Regions from separate parts of the Homo sapiens genome. Here regions 2 and 3 are each linked to region 1. Evidence: promoter capture Hi-C in 16 types of primary human blood cells and fetal thymus (Javierre and others, 2016). All regions are on one chromosome and are shown on one strand. Each heading gives the region's core, a stretch centred on a gene start or on the middle of the fragment in contact. The rest is flanking DNA. Distances are from core to core; before and after follow the strand shown. Region 1 holds the start of G3BP1 (G3BP stress granule assembly factor 1). Region 2 holds the start of LARS1 (leucyl-tRNA synthetase 1). Region 3 overlaps CYFIP2 (cytoplasmic FMR1 interacting protein 2).

The links. Contacts are between HindIII fragments. The CHiCAGO score rates a contact against its expected background, and 5 or more counts as called.
Region 2: a contact is called between the fragment with the promoter of LARS1 here and the fragment with the promoter of G3BP1 in region 1, in 1 of 17 cell types (fetal thymus). The highest score is 5.7, in fetal thymus.
Region 3: a fragment that was not itself captured here is called in contact with the fragment with the promoter of G3BP1 in region 1 in 1 of 17 cell types (fetal thymus); the score reaches 6.9 in fetal thymus.

What each region holds. Positions count from the first base shown.
Region 1 is chr5:151,770,640-151,773,357 of GRCh38, reverse strand. It overlaps G3BP1 (G3BP stress granule assembly factor 1), which reads right to left and starts at 1,404. Exons shown (of 12, transcript NM_005754.3): 1 at 1,322-1,404. LOC100652758 (a long non-coding RNA gene) reads left to right here and starts at 1,182. Exons shown (of 2, transcript NR_132345.1): 1 at 1,182-1,655; 2 at 2,586-2,718. RefSeq lists silencers at 778-847, 898-1,227 and enhancers at 1,436-1,730, 1,988-2,217, 2,596-2,718. The HindIII fragment of the contact is 14,997 bases long and covers 1-2,718 here.
Region 2 is chr5:146,181,255-146,183,972 of GRCh38, reverse strand. LARS1 (leucyl-tRNA synthetase 1) reads left to right here and starts at 1,323. Exons shown (of 32, transcript NM_020117.11): 1 at 1,323-1,485. The coding sequence starts at 1,480. RefSeq lists enhancers at 1-731, 1,640-1,799. The HindIII fragment of the contact is 6,101 bases long and covers 1-2,718 here.
Region 3 is chr5:157,266,716-157,269,433 of GRCh38, reverse strand. All of the region lies in intron 1 of CYFIP2 (cytoplasmic FMR1 interacting protein 2), which reads right to left. Among named protein-coding and RNA genes, the nearest start is that of CYFIP2, 2.0 kb to the right of the region's middle. RefSeq lists an enhancer at 2,095-2,204. The HindIII fragment of the contact is 455 bases long and covers 1,241-1,695 here.

The DNA.
Region 1 (2,718 bases), core at 155-2,654:
GACACGCTCCACAGAGGTCCAAATAGTATACTGTAACTGGGCGCCAACCTTTCTATTCCAATTCCGTATTTTAACCCACAGATGCTAGTGAGATCTTAAATTCGTCGCTTTGCACCTCATTCCCTTCAACTATAAAGTGAATCTTCTCAAGGTCTTTCTGCAAAAGTCTCCTCCAATTAAAAAAAAAGTAGAGAAAAAAAAATTCAACGTCTAAAACCGGAGCCTAACTTCCCGCTGGCGGGAATTTCCCATCAGCAATCTGAGATTCAAACCCGATGAGGAACACAGTCCATGTTCATTTGCACTTACTCATCGTTTTCCCTACTTTTTTCCAGAAGCTACGGTGGCGGCACATCTACCCAGGGCCTGTACAAGTACACGTAGAAAGGAAGCCCAAACCCTTTTCCTTTGTCACATTCCCACTTCCAACCCTTGTCTCCCTGGAAGCCCAGAACTAGCCCAAGTACAAATGCCGCTGCAGCCTTCTCGGCAGGTGGCCTTTTGAGGCTGATGCTGCCCCGAGGGACAAGTGCTCTGGGGGCAAAGACTAAAAACAGGCTTGGGAAGCGGGGAGCTCGGAGTCAGAGGGCCCGGCGTCAACAAATCCCCGCCCTTCCCGTGCGTGCCTGTGACCCCGCTCTCCAAACCCGTGCCTTGGGCCGCTAAGGAAGGAGGATAGCCGTACCCACCTCGCCAGCTCACTGCAAGAATCAAATGAAAGGCAGAAAAGTGGCTCCGCACAGTGCCGGACACACAGTGAGGGCGTGGAAAGAACATTGGTTGTTACTACCACTCCGTGCACTCGCTGCTCCCTCTTTGCTCTCTGCAAAACCGAAGGCGCTTCTGCGACGCGCGGACCGCAAGACTCCAATCAGACTTTAGTGCTGCCCCCACCCTAAACGAAAGCCTCCTTCTGGTCCGAACCGACTGGATCCCTTGGCCAGGGGAGGAAAAGGTGCCGCGGGCGCGTGGCGGAGAGGGTGGCGGGCGGGAAACGCTGGGCGCGGGACCCCTGGCCCCAGAGACCGCCCTGGGGCCCAGGCGGCGGCCGCGGCTTACTCCTGCCCCGCGAGGCCGTTGGACGCAGCACGCGCACGCGGCGGACACGGCCACGCGCCCCAGCCGGGACGGGAGCGGGAGCGAGGAGCCGCCGCGCGCCCGTCCGTCCGCCGCGCGCGCCTGCGGCCGTTGGGGTGGGGGTTGGGGTGGGGGACGCGACTGGCGCGGCCGCCGCGAGCGCCACTCAGACTTCTCCCTCTCACAAGTGCTGCGGCTCGGCTTAGTCCTCTGGCCTCCCTGCCCCGCCCACACCCCGGCGTACCTACGCGGCTGAGCTGGAGAGGAACTAGCTCTGCACCACAGCACCGAGGATAGTACAAACCCCTCACGCAACTGCGTCCGCACACACGCGTGCTCCGCCGCCGGTCTATATAACTGCCACTCACCCTAACTTGTTGCGGCCAGGTCGGGCGACGGGATGACCAATCCCGACCGCGTCCTCAGGGCTCTTCGAACAGTAATTGGGCACTGACTCGGGGATGAAGGCGTGGCTCTTGATTGGCTTTGACTCCTGCCTATGAGACTGTGAGGATCTCGTTTCCCTAGTAACAGATCGGCACTAAGAGAGACCAATAACCGAAAAGTACAATAGAAAGGCGAGTGAGCAGTTCTTTGACTGATACTCAAAGTAGCCAATAAATGTGTGGGGCTGCTCTTATTCGTTAACACGTCTTCCCCTGGGCGGAGATCCGTTTTCCATGCAGGAGCGGTTGCGCCACAAGGTGGGGCCCGTGTACTTTGGGGAAGTAAACCCCTAGCAACTAGGAGGCGGGCGTCCGAGAGGCCAAGACAGCCTGTGGCCAATCGCAACGCCGGAAGGAGCTGATAGACACGGAGGTTGCTCTGCTCGGAAGAGACCGAGCCCCAGGGCCGCCGTGCCCTCTGGGCGGTTGTGAGGCTGTGCAGCCTGCGGCTTCTGCCCTCTTTCTTTCCCTGACTGGTTGGGTCCGGCCTCCGAGGCCTGTACCCCGCCTTTTCCGCATAGGTTTGTACCTGGCGAACCAACTAGTAAAGTTTCCCGGGTTGTTTTCTTTTTATTACAACTTTTTTCTTACGTGCGGCGGCCAAGGGCCTTGCTGCTCTCACCATTACTCAGCACTGCTGCGGGGCAGAGGAAGGAGGGTCGTTCCTGCGCCGCCCGCAGGCTCCCGCCGGAAGGTCGCCGGTGGAAGGCCTGAGAGTGCGCCCTTCCGCCAGGCGCTTCTTGGCGGGCGCTGCGAGGCGGCCGCGGGCGTGTGGCGAGGCTCCCTTTGTGGCAGCTGAGGCACGGTGGTCCGCGCGTGCTCCAGTGGAGTGTGGGCCCTCGCACCACGTCCCGAGCTGCACCACTATTGTTCAGCCTCGAATTGCCGCGGGTGGGGGCTTATTCTCGTCGCTACGCCTTTAAAAGGCAACTCGTCCCCTCCTCCTGGCGTTTCAGGCACTGGCGGGGCTACAACTCAAGGCTGGCCGGCCCTATTTCTATGGAAATAGCTTTGGTTCCCAGCCGTCCGGCACAGACACGCCCCGGTTTGTTCTCGTTCCAGGCATGTGACCAGGGTCTCCCGCGGAGTTTTGCTGAGAATTTTGGAAATGAAGCATGTGGAGCGCCTATGTCGGGGGAGAGAGGCCGAGCTGAAGGAGCACGGGCGCCGGCCTCGGCCTCTGGGGAGCCGGGCC
Region 2 (2,718 bases), core at 74-2,573, 5.6 Mb after region 1:
GTTCAAGCAATTTTCCTGCCTCAGCCTCCCGAGTAGCCGGGACTACAGGTGCACGCCACCATACCCAGCTAATTTTCGTATTTTTAGTAGAGACGGGGTTTCACCATGTTGGCCAGGCTGGTCTCAAACTCCTGACCTCAGGTCATCCGCCCACCTCGGCATCCCAAAATAATGGGATTATGGCCACCGCCCCTGGCCCTGTTTGGTAGTGGTCTAAATAGTCTGAGTCAGGCAATGGGACCAGGTAGGCTTTCAGTCTCTTGCTTAAAAATGGAGATTGTTGGCCGGGCACGGTGGCTCACGCCTGTAATCCCATCACTTTGGGAGGCTGGGGCGGGCGGATCACGAGTTCAGGAGATCGAGACCATCCTGGCCAATATGGTGAAACCCCGTTTCTACTGAAAATACAAAAATTAGCTGGGCGCGGTGGCGCGCGCCTGTAGTCCCAGCTACTAAGGAGGCTGGGGCAGAAGAATCGCTTGAACCCGGGAGGCGGAGGTTGCAGTGAGCCGAAACCGCGCCACTGCACTCCAGCCTGGAGACAGAACGAAACTCCCTCTCAAAAAAAAAAAAAAAAAAAAAAAAAAAAAAGGAGATTGTTGGCTAGGTACGGTAGCTCACGCCTGTAATCCTAGCACTTTGGGAGGCCGAGGGAGGCAGATCACGAGGTCAGGAAATCGGGATCATCCTGGCTAACAAGGTGAAACCCAGTCTCTACCAAAAATACAAAAAATTAGTCGGTGTGGTGGCGCGCGCCCATAGTCCCAGCTCCTCGGGAGCCTGAGGCAGGAGAATTGCTTGAATCCGGCAGGCCGAGGTTGCACTGAGCCAAGATCGCGCCACTGCACTCCAGCCTGGGCGACAGAGCGATACTGCGTCTCAAAAAAAAAAAAGGAGATTGTCAATACGCGGTTATACAATGTCTAAATGCTGGGCTGTTGAATGCCACTGACAGTAAAAAATATCTGTGCATAGTGGCAAGCCATAAGTAGCACCTCAGTCACCGTATAGTAATTAACTGCGTATCCTGGCATCCCGACAGGCAACCAGCTCTACCGGGTGAAAAGGTTGATGGCCAAGGGACTCCAACCTAACCAGGGCGCACTCGCGGCATTCTGCGATCCCGCACTGCATCATGGACTTTGTAGTTCAACATGCCAGTGACGTCACTGCCGGTTCCCCTCTGAGTGGGCCTATCGGGTAGACTTCCGATAACCCGTTTTTCTCTGGGAATTGTAGTCAGTTAGCGCCTGCTGGGTGTCTGCTCGGGTGGTCTGGGAACTACAATTCCCGGCGGGCTGTGAGATGCCTTGGCTGTAGTTAGTAAGGAGCCGGATGATTGCCTCAGCAGGTGTGAAGCGTGTGCTTTAGTTTCGTGGGAGGCCTGGCATCCCCGAGAGGGAGGGGAAAGGTAACCACTCCTTTGTGGAGGTCGCCAGGGTCATTGTCGTGGATTTGCACAGTCGGCTGGGCGGTGCAATGGCGGTGAGTTTGAGCGAGAAGAATCCGCAGGGGCCCTGGAGCCGGACTGGCCAGTCTCTAGGGGCTCTCCATGTGCTGTCCTGAAGGGAAAGTCCTTTTCTAAAAGAGAGCCACGCTTAAGGCGTGCCTTTCGTAGAGACTTTGCTTTTTCTTGCTAGTTTATGAACCACGAACTGATGTCTGTTAACTTTACGGAGTACTTGGATATCATATTTGTTATTTCTCTGGAGTTTCTAAAATCGAGGTGGAGAGCCGGGCACGGTGGCCCACGGCTGTAATCCCAGCACTTTGGGAGGCCGAGGCGGGTGGATCATTTGAGGTCAGGAGTTCGAGACCACCCTGGCCAACATGGTGAGACCCCGTTTCTACCAAAAATACATAAATTAGCCGGGCGTAGTGGTGCGCGCCTGTTAACCCAGCTACTCGGGAGGCTGAGGCAGGAGAATTGCTTGAACCCGGGAGAGGGAGGCTGCTGTGAGCCAGGATCGCGCCACTGCACTCCAGCCTGGGCGACAGAGTGAGACTCCGTCTTAAAAATAAAATAAATAAATAAACAAACAAATAAAGCCGAGGTGGAGAGAGGAGTATGTAAGTTGATTCCTACTTACAGCAAAAAAAAAAAAAAAAAAAAAAAAAAAAAAAGAAAAAATTGAGCGCCTCTCCGTAAAACAGACAAAAATCTCTCTTTTCATAGTGTTTATGTGTGTGGGTAAAATACATTGTAAAATATTGTGTCAGGTGCTGATAAATGCTGTGGGGAAAAAATAGAGCAGGAAGGGGTGCTAGGGAGTGTACGGTGGGGTAGTACAGTTGCAATTTTTAAAAATTTTTTTAAATTTGGGAGATGTTCTCACTCTGTGACCCAGACTGGAATGCAGTGGCGTGATCATGGCTCACTGCAGCCTGGACCTTAGGGCTCAAGCGATCCTCACACCTCAGCCTCCCCACAGCTGGTACTGCAAGCGTGCTCCATTACACCCTGCTAATTTTTTGTATTTTTAGTAGAGACAGGGTTTCGAACTCCTGGGGTCAAGCGATCCTTCTGTCTCAGCCTCCGAAAGTGCTGGGACTACAGGCATGAGCCATCCCGCCTGGTTTTATTTTTTTTTGTTTTTTGTTTGTTTGTTTGTTTTTTTCTTGAGACGGAGCCTTGCCCTGTCGCCAGGCTGGAGTGCAGCGGCGCGATCTCGGCTCACTGCAACCTCCTCCTCCCAGGTTCAAGCGGTTCCCCTGCCT
Region 3 (2,718 bases), core at 219-2,718, 5.5 Mb before region 1:
TCTGCCCTGGAAGCAAAGCATGCCCTCAACATTTTTGGATGGTTGCAAAATGCTGAATTCTCACAGAGGAAGAGGCCCTTCCTTAACTCTACGTGTTGAAATGTGAGAATGGCCCTGGGCTTCTGCTTGGCTTGTTCCCTCCCACTTCTCCCTACCTACTCAGGTTCCACCCACCTCTCTTGTGCTACTTAAGAGCACTTCCCACCTGAAGCCTTTCACTTCATGCCCTATCACTCTTAACTTTCCCTTCCTTCGGCCGGTAAACTTGGGGCTGGGTTTACTGGTCACAGAGACCAACTTCCCTCAAAAAAGCAAAATTCAGGAAAGCTCTGGAGGGAGAGGGGCTGGTAATAGCCAAGGGTTGATTACATACATAAGCCAAATTCTTAATGATTATGTAATTAATACATTATAACAATAAATACATAAATATGCTAGTACTTACTATGTGCTAAGCATTCTGCTCGGCACTTTCATGCACCCCTTGGGTAGTAAGAGCATCCAAAGATATTCTAGTTCCTCCCCTGCCTCCATTCACTGCCAAGAAGGCAGCAGCCTGCCCCCCTTCTCCCACCATCTCACTACTGATGCAGGGGCCATCCCCTGGACCCTAGGCATGGCTTTGCTCCTCAGAATGACAGGACCAAAAGCCTTTCATAAAGACTCCAGTGAGGTGACTGATGTCTGGCTTTGTCAATTACAAGTGAATAATTAATACTTGCCAGTAAAGAAATAGACTCATTGTTACGGTGGCCACATGGAGGCTACAAAAGGCCATTTTGTGACGCTTTTGGTGGACCCCTGGGGCCAACAGTGGTCCAAAGAAGCTGCGTTGAGAGTGTAGTCCAATCTTTAAACGTAGGGACTGGGACCCGTACTGTTTTCCAGGAGCGCTTTTCCCGTTAATTAGCTTGTAGCCGATTCATCATCTCATTCAGCTTTCTGGTTGATGACAGCAGCAGAGGCCACTGAACATCAGAGAGGGCATGATTTATCAGAGGGGTCATGTAGTGTTCTACCAGGGCCTTTTACCGGTTTTTGAATTCATGTCTACTTCCTTCTCTGGGCCAGCATCTGATTTGAGTAAAACTCTCCAACCCCACTGGGTTGTACATCCGACTCTTGGCCTAATGCCTAAAGCAAGTTTTTCCTTTTTCATTTTCCAGCAGGGACTGAACAAGGCAGCCTTGGGTGCCTACAGAACCGGTCAGAACTGGCCAGGAAATATAATAAAGAAGCTTAGTGAGCAGAGAGCTAATGCCCCCAGCCAGAGGCTCAGTGCGCACAACTAGCTAGAGGCACTGACTTTGTAAGCAACAACACTATCTTCTTGAGGTCTAATAATTGCCTTGGCAAAGGGCAGCCAATGCCAACGAGGAACCCTGTGTACACAAGTTTCTCATCCCGAAAGTGGACACTGGGTGCTCAAAAAATGCCTTCTGGTGACAGTAACACCTGACCAGTCAAACAAACATGCACGCATGCACATGCATGCATACACACTCTTACAGCATTCCTGCCTGCAGGGCCAAAGCTGCCCTTGCCAAATACAGAGCTGACAGCTGCTAGATATTGTCATTTCAGGGACCCGTTCCCAAAAGAACTACCCAGCTCCCCACCTCCACTTCCAGCCCACTGTTTGAAATTCTACCATTAGTGATAGCAAATATTTCTACAGTGTTTCCCATTAAAGCTTTGTTTCCCATTAAAATGCCTCCATCCTCTGTTTCTTTTCCGGTCAAATGACTTGTAAAGCACCTGCTCTGCATCAAATGGGAACTTCTTTTGTATTTAGCTCTTCAAGATAAACACAATCATTGGCTCCTTTCTTGAAAACCATTTCTGACACTGGAGACTGGGGGAAGGGCAGGGCACTGTATGGAAGTGGAGGTGGGAGGCCACCAGGAGGGCCACAGAGAGAGGGTCTAATGGTGGAGAAAGCAACCATCAAGGCCTTCACAGGCCTGCCCAAAGATATGGACCTGATTTTTGCCCTCTAAGATCTCAGGGACCCAGGTTGCTGGCACAGCCTGTATCCAAGAGTAAGGTGAGACCCACTGCCCTAACTGGGACACAGACAGGAGGCAGGAAATGGGAACACAGGAACCGACAGTCTCCTGATTTGCCCCTCCTGCCAGCAGGCCTGCCTCCGTCTCCCTGCCCATGCTGAGGGCACAGGCACCCAGGAACTAGCAGAAAAAGATCCTTGTCCCATTCTTGGCCTAGCTGGAAGGACAGCTGATGGCTCATCAGCCCTGGTGAGTGTTTCCACTGTGCTGGGGAAAGTAGGCAAGCAAAGGTCAAAATCAGATTCCCTGTGCTGGGGAGGCACCTGGGCTGTCAGTGTCCTTTCCAGCCGGGTTCTGGATATAGAGGGCCATACTTATGTGGAACATGCTACCTGCCCCCATCCCCAAGCAGAGAGCACCTCCTCCTCTTCTTTTGCACATAGGTGGGCTGTTCTTTGGGGTGAGGGGTAGGGCTGACCTGAAAAGTAGACGCCACAACAGACAGGCAAGCATCTTCCTGGTTCTTCAGAGCTCAAGAAAAAAACCACCTTTTCCCCCAGGAGTCAGCCCACTCATCCCCTTCCCCCACTTCCACCGTGCCCGCAGCCAGCTTGGTGAGCGATGCTAGTGTAGGCCAGAAAGCTTCCAAGCGGGTCAGACCTGCTCCTCTCTCATCAAAGCCCTCCGCCCCCAAACATCGACGCTGCGC